Regions from separate parts of the Homo sapiens genome. Here region 1 is linked to region 2. The links are contacts of gene promoters, found by promoter capture Hi-C in human tissues and cell types (Jung and others, 2019). All regions are on one chromosome and are shown on one strand. Each heading gives the region's core, a stretch centred on a gene start or on the middle of the fragment in contact. The rest is flanking DNA. Distances are from core to core; before and after follow the strand shown.

What was found. The method cuts DNA at HindIII sites, captures the fragments that hold promoters and counts their contacts. A contact is called where the count stands out against the background at its distance.
Region 1: a fragment that was not itself captured here is called in contact with the fragment with the promoter of KIF5C in region 2 in 1 of the 25 tissues and cell types used here (H1 embryonic stem cells).

Annotation. Positions count from the first base shown.
Region 1 is chr2:148,359,547-148,366,134 of GRCh38, reverse strand. The region is part of intron 4 of MBD5 (methyl-CpG binding domain protein 5); the gene reads right to left. Among named protein-coding and RNA genes, the nearest start is that of EPC2, 280 kb to the left of the region's middle. RefSeq lists an enhancer at 3,544-4,082. The HindIII fragment of the contact is 8,189 bases long and covers 1-6,588 here.
Region 2 is chr2:148,871,514-148,877,466 of GRCh38, reverse strand. It overlaps KIF5C (kinesin family member 5C), which reads right to left and starts at 2,240. Exons shown (of 26, transcript NM_004522.3): 1 at 1,724-2,240. The coding sequence starts at 1,849. KIF5C-AS1 (KIF5C antisense RNA 1) reads left to right here. Exons shown (of 4, transcript XR_001739733.2): 3 at 125-455; 4 at 1,272-4,470. It also overlaps the pseudogene USP8P2. RefSeq lists enhancers at 416-995, 996-1,574 and a silencer at 1,947-2,416. The HindIII fragment of the contact is 19,635 bases long and covers 1-5,953 here.

The sequences.
Region 1 (6,588 bases), core at 1,847-4,346, 510 kb after region 2:
CGATCATGGTGGATGAGCTTTCTGATGTACTGCTGGATTCTGTCTGCCAGCATTTTATTGAGGATTTTTACATCGATATTCATCAAGGATATTGGCCTGAGATTTAGTATTTCTGTTGTGTCTCTGCTAGCTTTTGGTATCAGGATGATGCTGGCCTCATAAAATGAGTTAGGGAGGAGTCCCTCTTTTTCTTTTGTTTGGAATAGTTTCAGAAGGAATGGTACCAGCTCCTCTTTGTACTTCTGGTAGAATTCACCTGGGCATCCATCTGGTCTGGGGTTTTTTTTTTGGTAGAGTGTTAATTACTGTCTCAACTTCAGAACTTTTTATTGGTCTATTCAGTGATTCGACTTCTTCCTAGCTTAGTCATGGGAGGGTGCATGTGTCTAGGAATTTATCCATTTCCTCTATATTTTCTAGTTTATTTGCATAGAGGGGTTTATAGTATTATCTGATAGCAGTTTGTATTTTGGTGGGATCAGTGGTGATAGCCCCTTTATCATTTTTTATTGTGTCTATTTGATTCTTCTCCTTTTTCTTTTTTATTGGTCTGGCTAGTGGTCTATGTATTTTGTTAATCTTTTCAAAAAATCAGCTCCTCAATTCCTTGAATTTTTGAAGGGTTCATCTCCTTCAGTTCTGCTCTGATCTTGTTTATTTCTTGTCTTCTGCTAGCTTTTGAATGTGTTTGCTCTTGCTTCTCTACTCCTTTTAATTGTGATGTTAGGGTGTCGGTTTTAGATCTTTCCTGCTTTCTCCTGTGGGCATTTGGTGCTATAAATGTCCCTCTAAGACTGCTTTGGCTGTGTCTCAGAGATTCTGGTATGTTGTGTCTTTGTTCTCATTGGTTTCAAAGAACTTATTTATTTCTGTGTTAATTTTGTTATTAACCCAGTAGTTATTCAGGAGCAGGTTGTTTAGTTTCCATGTATTTGTGTGGTTTTGAGTGAGTTTTGTAATCCTGAGTTCTAATTTGATTGCACTGTGGTCTGAGAGACTTGTTTGTTAAGATTTCTGTTCTTTTGCATTTGCTGAGGAGTGCTTTACTTTCAATTATGTGGTCAATTTTAGAATAAGTGTGATGTGGTGCTGAGAAGAATGTATATTCTGTTGATTTGGGGTGGAGAGTTCTGTAAATGTCTATTAGGTCTGCTTGGTCCAGAGCTGAGTTCACGTCCTGAATATCCTTGTTAATTTTCTGTCCTGTTGACCTAATATTGACATTTGGGTGTGAAAGTCTCTCACTATTATTGTGTGGCAGTTTAAGTCTCTTTGTGGGTCTCTAAGAACTTGCTTTATGAATCTGGGTGCTCCCCTATTGGGTGCATATATATTTAGGATAGTTAGCTCTTCTTGTTGCATTGATCCCTTTACCATTATGTAAAGCCCTTCTTTGTCTTTTTTGATCTTTATTGGTTTAAACCCTCTTTTACCAGAGACTAGGATTGCAACCCCTGCTTTTTATTGCTTTCCATTTGCTTGGTAAATATTCCTCCATCCCTTTATTCTGAGCCTATGTGTGTCTTTGCGTGTGAGATGGGTCTCCTGAATACAGCACACTAATGGGTCTTGACACTTTGTCCGATTTGCCAGCCTGTGTCTAATTGGGGCATTTAACCCATTTACATTAAAGGTTAATACTGTTATGTGTGAATTTGATCCTGTCATTATGATGCTAGTTAGTTATTTTGCCCGTTAGTTGATGCAGTTTATTCATAATGTCAATGGTCTTTACAATTTGGTATGTTTTTGCAGTGGCTGGTACCAGTTTTCCTTTTCCATATTTAGGGCTTCCTTCAGGAGCTCTTGTAAGGTAGGCCTGGTGGTGACAAAATCTCTCAGCATTTGCTTGTCTGTAAAGGATTTTATTTATCCTTCGCTTATGAAGCTTTGTTTGGCTGGATATGAAATTCTGGGTTGAAAATTCTTTTCTTTAAGAATGTTGAATATTGGCCCCCACTCTTTTCTGGCTTGTAGGGTTTCTACTGAGATATCTGCTGTTAGCCTGATGGGATTCCCTTTGTGGATAACCTGACCTTTCTCTCTTCTGCCCTTAATATTTTTTCCTTCATTTCAACCTTGGCGAATCTGTCGATTATGTGTCTTGGGTTGCTCTTCTTGAGGAGTATCTTTGTGGCGTTCTCTGTATTTCCTGAATTTGAATGTTGGCCCGTCTTGCTAGGTTGGGGAAGTTCTCCTGAATAATATCCTGAAGAGTGTTTTCCAACTTGGTTCCATTCTCCCCGTCACTTTCAGGTACACCAATCAAACACAGGTTTGGTCTTTTCACATAGTCCCATATTTCTTGGAGGGTTTGTTTGTTCCTTTTCATTCTTTTTTCTCTAATCTAGTCTTCACACTTTATTTCATTAAGTTGATCTTCAATCTCTGATATCCTTTTTTCCGCTTGATTGATTCAGCTATTGATACTTGTGTATGCTTCATGAAGTTCTCATGCTGTATTTTTCAGCTCCATCAGGTATAGAGGTCCACTCCAGACCCTGTTTGCCTGGGTATCACCAGCAGAGGCTGCAGAACAGGTCTTTTCTTAACTGGTTATTTTAGTTAGCAATTTGTCTAACCTTTTCTCAAGGTTCTCAGAGGCTGCGTGTGGTGGCTCATGCCTGTAATCCCAGCACTTTGGGAGGCCGAGGTAGGTGGATCACGAGGTCAGGAGATTGAGACCATCCTGGCTAACACAGCGAAACCCCGTCTCTACAAAAAATACAAAAAAATTAGCCGGGCGTGGTGGCGGGCGCCTGTAGTCACAGCTACTCGGGAGGCTGAGGCAGGAGAATGGTGTGAACCCAGGAGGTGGAGCTGGCAGTGAGCCAAGATTGCGCCACTGCACTCCAGCCTGGGTGACAGAGTGAGACTCTGTCTCAAAAAAAAGAAAAGGTTCTTAGCTTCCTTTCATTGGGTTAGAATATGCTCCTTTAGCTCGGAGGAGTGTGTTATTACCCACTTTCTGAAGCCTACTTCTGTCAATTCGTTAAACTCATTCTCTGTCCAGTTTTGTTCCTTTGCTGGCAAGGAGTTGTGATCACTTGGAGGAGAAGAGGCATTCTGGGTTTTGGAATTTTCAGCCGTTTTGCACTGTTTTTTCCTCATCTTCATTGATTTATCTACCTTTGGTCTTTGTGTTGGTGACCTTCAGATGGGGTCTCTGAATGGATTTCCTTTTTGTTGATGTTGATGCTATTCCTTTCTGTTTGCTAGTTATCCTTGTAACAGTCAGGCCCCTTTGCTGCAGGTCTGCTGGAGTTTGCTGGAGGTCCACTCCAGACCCTGTTTGCCTGGGTATCACCAGCAAAGGCTGAAGAACAGCAAAGACTGCTGCCTATTCCTTCCTCTGGAATCTTTGTCCCAGAGTAGCACCCACTAGATGCCAGCTGGAGTTCTCCTGTGTGAGGTGTCTGTCGACCCCTGCTGGGAAGTGTCTCCCAGTCAGGAGGCACGGGGGTCAGGGACCCACTTGAAGAGGTAGTCTGTCAGTTAGCGGAGCTCGAGCATTGTGCCGGGAGATGCACTGCTCTCTTCAGAGCCAGTAGGAAGGAACCTTTAAGTTGGCTGAAGCTGTGCACACAGCTGTTCCTTTCCCCTGGTGCTCTGTCCCAGGGAGATGGGAGTTTTATGTATATGTCCCTGACTGGGGATGCTGCCTTTCTTTTAGAGATGCCCTGCCAACAGAGGAGGGATCTAGAGAGGCAGTCTGGCTACAGTGGCTTTGCTGAGCTGCAGTGATCTCCGCCCAGTTCGAACTTCCTGATGGCCTTGTTTACACTGTGAGGGGAAAATCGCCTACTGAAGCCTCAGTAATGGTGGATGCCCCTCCCCCCACCAAGCTCCACCATCTCAGGTTCACTTCAGGCTGCTGTGCTGACCTGAGAATTTCAAGCCAGTGGATCTTAGCTTGCTGCGCTCTGTGGGGCTGGGATCCGCTGAGCTAGACCACTTGGCTCCCTGGCTTCAGCCCCCTTTCCAGGAGAGTGAATGGTTCTGTCTTGCTGGCATTCCAGGGGCCACTGGGGTATGAAAAAAACTCCGGCAGCTAGCTCGGTGTTTGCCCAAATGGCCACCCAGTTTTGTGCTTGAAACCCAGGGCCCTGGTGGTGTAGGCACCCGAGGGAATCTCCTGATCTGCAGTTGCAAAGACCATGGGAAAAGCGTAGTATCTGGGCCCGAGTGCACTGTTCCGCATGGCACAGTCTCTCCTGTCTTCCCTTGGCTAGGGGAGGGAGTTCCCCAACCCCTTGTGCTTCCCCAGTCGGGAGGGCTGCACTCACTGTCTAACTAGTTCCAATGAGATGAGCTGGGTACCTCAGTTAGAAATACAGAAATTACCCGCCTTCTGCGTTGATCTCGCTGGGAGCTGCAGACCGGAGCTGTTCCTATTTGGCCATCTTGGCAGCCACCACCATTTTGATGCTCTTATTAACATCTAGTGATTGTTGTCCAAACTATGGGATTGGCAACGTGTCTTTAAAAATAACTATTGTTAAGTTCCTATTTCTCTGACTATATAGATAATGTGAGCCCTTCTTGTTTCATAGCCTAGATCCTGGGCAATGTTGCAAAAGGCTACATTAGTTAATATTGGACAAATTGTTAAGCCAGTCATTCAACATATACCCTACCTTTTAAAAATGGCTCTGCAACAGATTTCTGTTTGGAAATACTAATAAAACAGGGGAGTCAGTGTCCCAACTGATGTTCAGAAGAATATGTACTGAAAAGAAATCTGTAAATCCAACACGTTTTTTTTTTTGTTTTGTTTGTGTTTTTGAGACAGAGTCTCACTCTGTCACCCAGGCTGCAATGCAGTTGTGCAATCTTGGCTCACTGCAACTTTCACCTCCTGGGTTCAAGAGATTCTCCTCCCTCAGCCTCCCCAGTAGCTAGGATTACAGGCATGTGCCACCTCACCTGGCTAATTTTTGTATTTTTAGTAGAGATTGGGTTTCACAATGTTGGCCAGGCTGGCTGGTTTTGAACCCCTGACCTTGTGATCCGGCTGCCTCGGCCTCCCAACGTGTTGGCATTATAGGCATGAGCCACCACGCCTGGCCCCAACCCAGCACTTTTTTTCTTATTTTTCTTCTCAATAAAAACATGGAAGGAGAGGAGGGGAGCGGAGGGAAGATTTTTATAGTTAGCAGATTATGATAATTCTAAATACAAGGTAAATAATGGTGGGAAAACTCATAATAAAACTTACCTAGTCTGAGCTAAAATTTTAAAATGAACATTGATTATATGTGCATTTTAACTGAAATATAAAAACATTATTTTTTATTTGTTTTTGAATATTTTTCAACAATTTTAATGCCAGCTTAGAAAAATGATCATATAGACTGTCACAAAAATACCAGCAATATTAAACAGTGTGCACCCTGTAATTCCAGCATGTGGTACCAGAATGTTTCTAAGGTTTCACAGTAAATATCAGCAATGCAGCACACTCTACCTAGATTTTCAATATCTAGGTCACATGGACTACTTTGAATACTGTGAATAGGGGAAAAAAAGCAGGAAGATTTCTGTATAGCCACCAGAAAATCATAACATGCAAAATACATTTTAAAAAATCCTAGGATATCATGGTTTTAAAAATAATTCCTACATAAAATAGAAGACAGTATCCCAAAAAGGAACTTCTCATCTATTATGTAAACCAAATAAAACCTTTGCAGAGTATTATTTACTTAATAAAATGTCTTTTGTTTTTCCTATTCTCTGAGATGTGTGTGTGTATGTGCACACTGAATGGTCAGAAGCAGGTAAAAAGAACATATACTAAAAATAAATGTGTTGTTAATCCAAAAAATATATGCACTTTAGGGAAAAATCCAGCAGTAGTTAGAGGTAATCAGAAACTACAGCTTCCACTTATAATAAAGGCAAACAGATATGATAATAATGATATTTGAAATTATAATCCTTTTTATTTATATAAAAGAGACATGGAGGGTTTATAATACATTTTGATTATGAAAAATGCACACTGCATTTGCAATTTCTTTCAGCCATAATAATATACAGTTACAGATATTTGAAACCTGAAATGATCTTTGCTATAATTTTATTATTTTCCTTGAAATCTAGTGAATTTATTCAGTTATGGATTTAAAATTTCTTCTTGCCCTTTTTCCAAGTTTTTATGTGAAGGACAGGAAGTAAATATGTGTCTCAGCAAAATGAGAGTCCCTAATAATCTATAATAAAACTGCTACCACATATAACTTTTATATATGTATACTTCTTTTAAAGGGAGACAGAAATGAAAACAACTTTTTCAGTGAATTTTTCTTAATCTATTTGAAAAGCAATACATAAAGAGCAGTCACATATGCCAGCACAACAATTAAAATGGGTAACATTGAAAAACCACATTTAAATGACTAGGATTCATAGAGATCATGCTTTGATAAAGAGTTTATTCCTATTATCAAAAAGATCTATAGAACTGGCTATAAACAATGTATTTTTTTAATGGCACTAAAGCTTACAAGGATCTTTCAATCGAGTACACAAAGGAGCTGCTTAAGACTGCAAAGCCTTTCTTAAGACTTAAGAAGGCAAGAAAAA
Region 2 (5,953 bases), core at 991-3,490:
ATGTCACTAACACTTATCTGCCATTAACTGCAGAATTTCCTTCCTCATCAATAATCGTAGCTTATATCTTCTCTGCAAGTTTAACACTAAACAGAGAGAAAACCCCGCTTTCCTGCCCTCATAGGTCAGCTCGCAGAATGATCGCCCATCCACACAGCGTTTGGAGGTCAGACGTTCCTGATGACTGTGAAAATGGGGAGGTGAGAAGAGGTCGTCAAAGGGAGCAGCCTTTTAAAGCCAGGTACAGGTTAAAGCCCTGAGGCCAGAGCCTTGCCCAGGCTCCTCTAGCGTGGAGAGCTCCCGCCTTACGGTACAGCTGGCACCTGCTGGTCCCCAGGGCCCTTCGCTGCGACTGCGGCAGACAACCTTGGCAAAGATGCTGGGGACCGCCCGGGCTGGAAAACGTCGGCCTCTGGCGCTTGAGAAAGGCCAGGCGGACTCCTGCAATACCCTCGGTAAACTGTCACCTGTCAATCACTTGACCTAAATACACCAGCCACTGGAGGAAGGGGAGGAGGGGGTTAGTCGGAGCATGCTCAGTGATCAGGATGACATCACTTAATCAATGCTGGGGACGGGAAGGCTGCATCAGCAGCCTGGAGCAGGCTGCCAGGAACGTGTCAGCGGGGACCGGGAGGCTCCCATTAACTCGGTCCCTCCCCACGCGGCTCGCATACAAAGGGGGCACCATCAGCCACACACGCTACGGACAGCGGGCGGGGAAGGGGCGGGGGACCGAGCTGGTTTGTTTCATCTGACAGATTCCTTTAAGAACTACAATCCATTGGTGTTCCCTCCCCCTACCAGCAGCCCCAGCTGCAGAGAGGGAGCTAAGTAGGGGGAGGGGGTGGGGGAGAAAAGGTGGGGAAGGGAGATAGAGAGGGAGGGGGGTCCGAGCCGCACGAAGTAACTTCTGCTCTTGGCACAGGGGGCTACTGCGCTCTGAGCCCCCTCGCCCCACAGATGTGGACACAGCCTCCTCTCCACCCAGCGTGAGGCGCATCAGAGGGTCTGCAGACATGGGAGGGAGGTCATCCCAGAGGGGAGGGATCAAGCCGGGACTCCACATCCAGGGCAGCCAGGCGTGAGAGGAAGCGGGAGACACACCAGGCCTCCAGGGGACACCGAGGCCACCAGTACTCCCCCAACCCTCCGCCTTCCGCGCGCGGAGCCAGGTGTAACACCGCGGGGAGCCGCGTCTACACTGCCGCGGGAGCTCCGAGACGCGACTAGAAATTTTCCTGTACCCCTTTTTCTTTCTTTTTTGCTAGGGTCGTGAGAAGAAGAGGCAAGGCGTTTGGTAAATCGAATTGATTGATGCCCAGAAGCATTTGCGGGTTGCAGAGCTCACACTTTAAAGGGGGCCTGGGCACCCGGCTTGAGGGTCACCCGAACACACTACCCACGCGGCGAGGCGAGCGTGGGGAACAATGGGCCCACCCGGGCCCCCACCCGGCGAACAATGGCGGCGCCGAGCCCGTCTTCGCCCCCCATCCCCACCCCCGCCACCCCCGCCCGGCCCGCCGCTCCCGGCCGCCTCTCCACCCGCCCGGGAGGGAACCATAGTGCGCGGGGCGAGGGGTCTCTGGTCAGGTCCACCCGAGAGGCCAGCCCCGCGGGAATGTCCGAGGGGGCGGCCTAAACACCTCCGCTGCGTCTGGGGCGTCGGGGCGCCCAGCTGCGGCGCGGAGCAGCAGGGAAGGCAGACGCCCCAGCCACTTACCCCGATCACCACGGTCTCATCGCCTTTAAATTTGGGGATGAATTTGTCCCCGCGGAGGATCTCCGCTTCGTTGAGGGGCCGGAACCGGCACATCACTTTGATGCTGCATTCGGCTGGATCCGCCATCTCGGCCGGCGGTAGGGAGGGGGCACGGGGATGGGTGGGGGGCCGGGGCCGGGAACGACGAGGGAGGAGGCCGCGAGCTGCACCGCCCACAGCTAGGCCGCCTCCTGCAGCCTCCGACGACGCTTCTCAGCAGGTCATCGCGAGCCCGGCCGGCTGAGCAGCCCCGGCCGCTCCGAGCCCGGGAAGGTGGGCAGCTTCTCCGCTCCGGCCCCTCCGGCTGCAGACCGGCCTGCCCTGGCCCTGCCCCGCCCCTGCCCAGCGCCCCCCGGCCCACCTGCCCGCGACCACGCGGCGGGCGGAGGAGGCGATGCGCAGGGAGCGAGCCTCGCCCGGCTCAGACCTCCCGGGCTCCTGCGCGCTCAGCCATCCTGCATCAGCACCAGCGCGCTCTGCCGCCTTGAGACCCGCCCCTCCGCCCCGCCCTCCCCTGGCCCGCCCCGGGACGGTGACGTCACCGTAGAGGTCCGCCCGGCCCCCGCCCGACTCCGAGCGCTGCGCATCCCGGGACTTGTAGTCACTCTACCTGCCGGGGGAAGGACAGGATGCGACCTCCAAGAGCCTGCAAGTCCGGTCTGGCTGCCCAAGCCGGAACCGGATGGAGGTCATATCCAATATTTCCGGTTAAAATCTCTAGATAACTGGGTCTGGATCATCCTGATCCCAAAAGAAAATCACTTGGGAAACAGCTCCCAATAGCCCCTGGGTTTCATCCTTCAACTTCTACCACTAGATAAGGATGGATGTCTGTTCAGAGTTTGGGTTTGATTGGCCTTGGTTTAGGTTGGCATCTAGTGCTAAACCAATCAACCAGAATCAGGGATTTTGTAAGATTATGGAGGAATCCCTTGGTGGGAAGGTTCCCAAAAGAAGAGGGATGGTATTCCCAGACATGGTGCCGGGCTGGCAGAACAACTGAGTGTCCACTCTATTTTTCCAGAACTTCCTTTTCCTCTAAGACCTAGCTCAACCCTCCTTCCTCAGACTTTCCCAGCTCACTAAACACCTATAAAGAGTTGGTGGCCCTCCTTGATGTTCCCCTAATCTGCTGTGCCTGTCTCTAGCACTGCACTTGGGTGGTGATATCTGCTTGATATCTTTGTGTCTGTAGCATCTAGCACATAGTGGGCAGCATACTGAATAAGGATTCTACCCTAGGAAGAAGCAATGCATGAGTGTGAATCCCACCTCAGCCACTTATTAGATGTATGACCAACAGGCGGAGGAAATTAAGAGCGGAGGAAATTAAGAAGTCTTAATTTCCTTAAGACTCAGTTTCCTCATCTCTGTCATTGGAATAATATCATCTTGTGATTTCTGGGGGAATTAAAAGACAGATGCTTTTAAAGCACCTAGCACGGTGCCTGACATGTATATAGGATAAGCTCTTGAAAGTTAGATGTTATTGGGTGCTGAACAAATGATCATAAAACAAATAAGTTAGTTAATTTTAGGAACACATCTGTTGCTTAAATTCGGGTAATACCTGAAAATACAAGTGTTCTCTGCCTAGCTGAGAGGACAGACCTACTAAAATCAACTTTTATAAACCCTTGTAAGTAGTACCAGTTCTATTTCATCTCCTCATGTGCAGTGGAAGTAGATTAAAAAGACCCAGGTGCCACCTTCTCATCTGTTTTTAAATTAAGTAATTCTCAGGCTCTGGCTCAGAGACCCATCATCTTAAATGATCAACTTCATAATATACTAGAGAGGACAATCCAATTCTCAGTTTCCCTGAGCCCACCAGAAGATGCCCAGAACCTTGCATACACTGGTTTATCTGAGGAGGTCAGGATTATCTCAAGTGGACAGAGACGTATCTGTGTGTCACTGTGTTCAGTCATCATTCATTCGTTCATCTGTTCATTCATCAGCTATTAACTGAGCAAATGGCATTTGCTGTCACTCTGTAAACTTAGATTTATTAAGTGAACCCTTTTCAAGGGAGATAACGTAGGGCCTCTCATTTGAAGGGAGGTTGCAAAATAAGTCATCGCCCTCAGGCAGCTTAGAAACTAGTGGGAGTACAGAGGATGAAGTTCTCAGTGTTGTCTGAGAAGGCTTAATATAGGAAATGGGCTAAGTAGGATTCAAAACAATTGAAAAGGGACACCAAAAGATAGGTAACAGGCCGGGCGCCGTGGCTCACGCATGTTAATCCCAGCACTTTGGGAGGCTGAGATGGGTGGATCACTTGAGGTCAGGAGTTTGAGACCAGCCTGACCAACCTGGTGAAACCTGGTCTCTACTAAGAATACAAAAATTAGCCAGGCATGGTGGCACGTGCCTGTAATTCCAGCTAATCTGGCGACTGAGGCAGAAGAATCGCTTGAACCCAGGAGGCAGAGATTGCAGTGAGCCAGGATTGTGCCTCTGCACTCCAACCTGGGCGACAGAGTGAGTCTCCATCTCAGGGAAAAAAAAAAAAAAGATAGGTAACAGAAGAAAAAACAGATAAATTTAACTACATCAAAATTAAAACTTTTGCACATCAAAGGATGCTATGAACAGAGTGAGAAGGCAGCTCATGAAATGGGAAAAAATTTGCAAATAATACATCTGATAAGGAGTTAATATACAGAATATATAAAGAATACCTATAACTCACAACCAAAAAAAAATTTTAAAAATGGGCAAAGGATGATGAGCTGGGCTGGATTCCATCTTGGTAGCCAAGGCTAATTCTCCCTCGAGTTCTTGGGAGATGGGCCTTTGGCAAGAAGGCTGGTGTTAGTGAAGCGCACCCGACGCCACGGAAAAAACTACTTTTAAGGAAATATAGCATCTATCGTGAACGTGGAAAAGTAAAGATAATTCACCATGCCTGCTGTGGCTTTAGTTCCTAAAGAACTCTACCTGAGTTCTTCACTAAAAGACCTCAATAAGAAGACAGAAGTTAAACCAGAGAAAATAAGCACTAAGAGGATTACGTCCATTCAATACTTGGAACTGCAAACATCAAAAAAGCCATTGAAGAAGCTGAAAGACTCTCTGAGAGCCTTAAACTAAGATATAAAGAAGCTGAAGTCCGGAAATAACTTGAGGAAAAGGACAGGCAGAAGGAAGCACAGCAACTACAACAAAAAAGGCAGGAAACAGGAAGAGAGGATGGTGGCACATTGGCTAAAGTTTCTTTGGAGAATGTATTGGATTCCAAAGACAAAACCCAAAAGAGCAATGGTGAAAAGAGTGAAAAAATGTGAGACCAAAGAGAAAGGAGCAATTACAACAAAGGAACTATACACAATGATGACGGATAAAAACATCAGCTTGATTATAATGATTGCTCGAAGAATGCAGAATTATCAGGATTCCTGTATTTTACATTCTCTCAGTGTTCCTGAAGAAGCCATCAGTCCAGGGTGGGTTATTGTGTAGTAAAGTGGTAAACTGTGTAGTAAGCAGTAAACTGTGGACCTTAGTAAATGTTACTACTTAGCATTCAAGCTAAATGTGATAAAGTAGTCTTTTCCTGTTAACTTTTTAAATCTTTGCCTCTTTTTTTGGGGGGGGGCAGGGCCAGAGGGGGAGGTGCGTTTTAAGAGCAGAGGTTTAATAGGCAAAAGAAAGAAAAAGGAGAACAGGGCCGGGCTCGGTGTCTCACACCTGTAATCCCAGCACTTTGGGAGGCCGAGGCAGGTGGGTCACAAGGTCAGAAGTTTGAGACCAGCCTGATCAGAATGGTGAAACCCTGTCTGTACTAAAAATGCAAAAATTAGCCGGGCATGGTGGCATGCGCCTGTAATCCCAGCTACTCAGGAGGCTGAGTCAGGAGAATCACTTGAACCCGGGAGGCGGAGGTTGCAGTGAGCCAAGATCGCACCACTGCACTCCAGCCTAGGTGACAGAATGAGACTCTGTCGCAAAAAAAAAAAAAAAGAAAAAGGAGAACAGCTCTCTCATTTTTGAGAGTGAGAGGTGCCCAAATGGCACTTCCCTAAATCTTTGCTTCTTAAAGACACACTTTACGCTTTATGAAGGTTGAAGTTACAGATTTCCTAACTTTTGATTTGGCTGTTTTCTCCTATTTGTGGTATTTAGAATCCTATCAAAAGAGAAATGAAGTTGCCTTTTCCCTCTCTCCCCAGGTGTTTGTTGACTGAT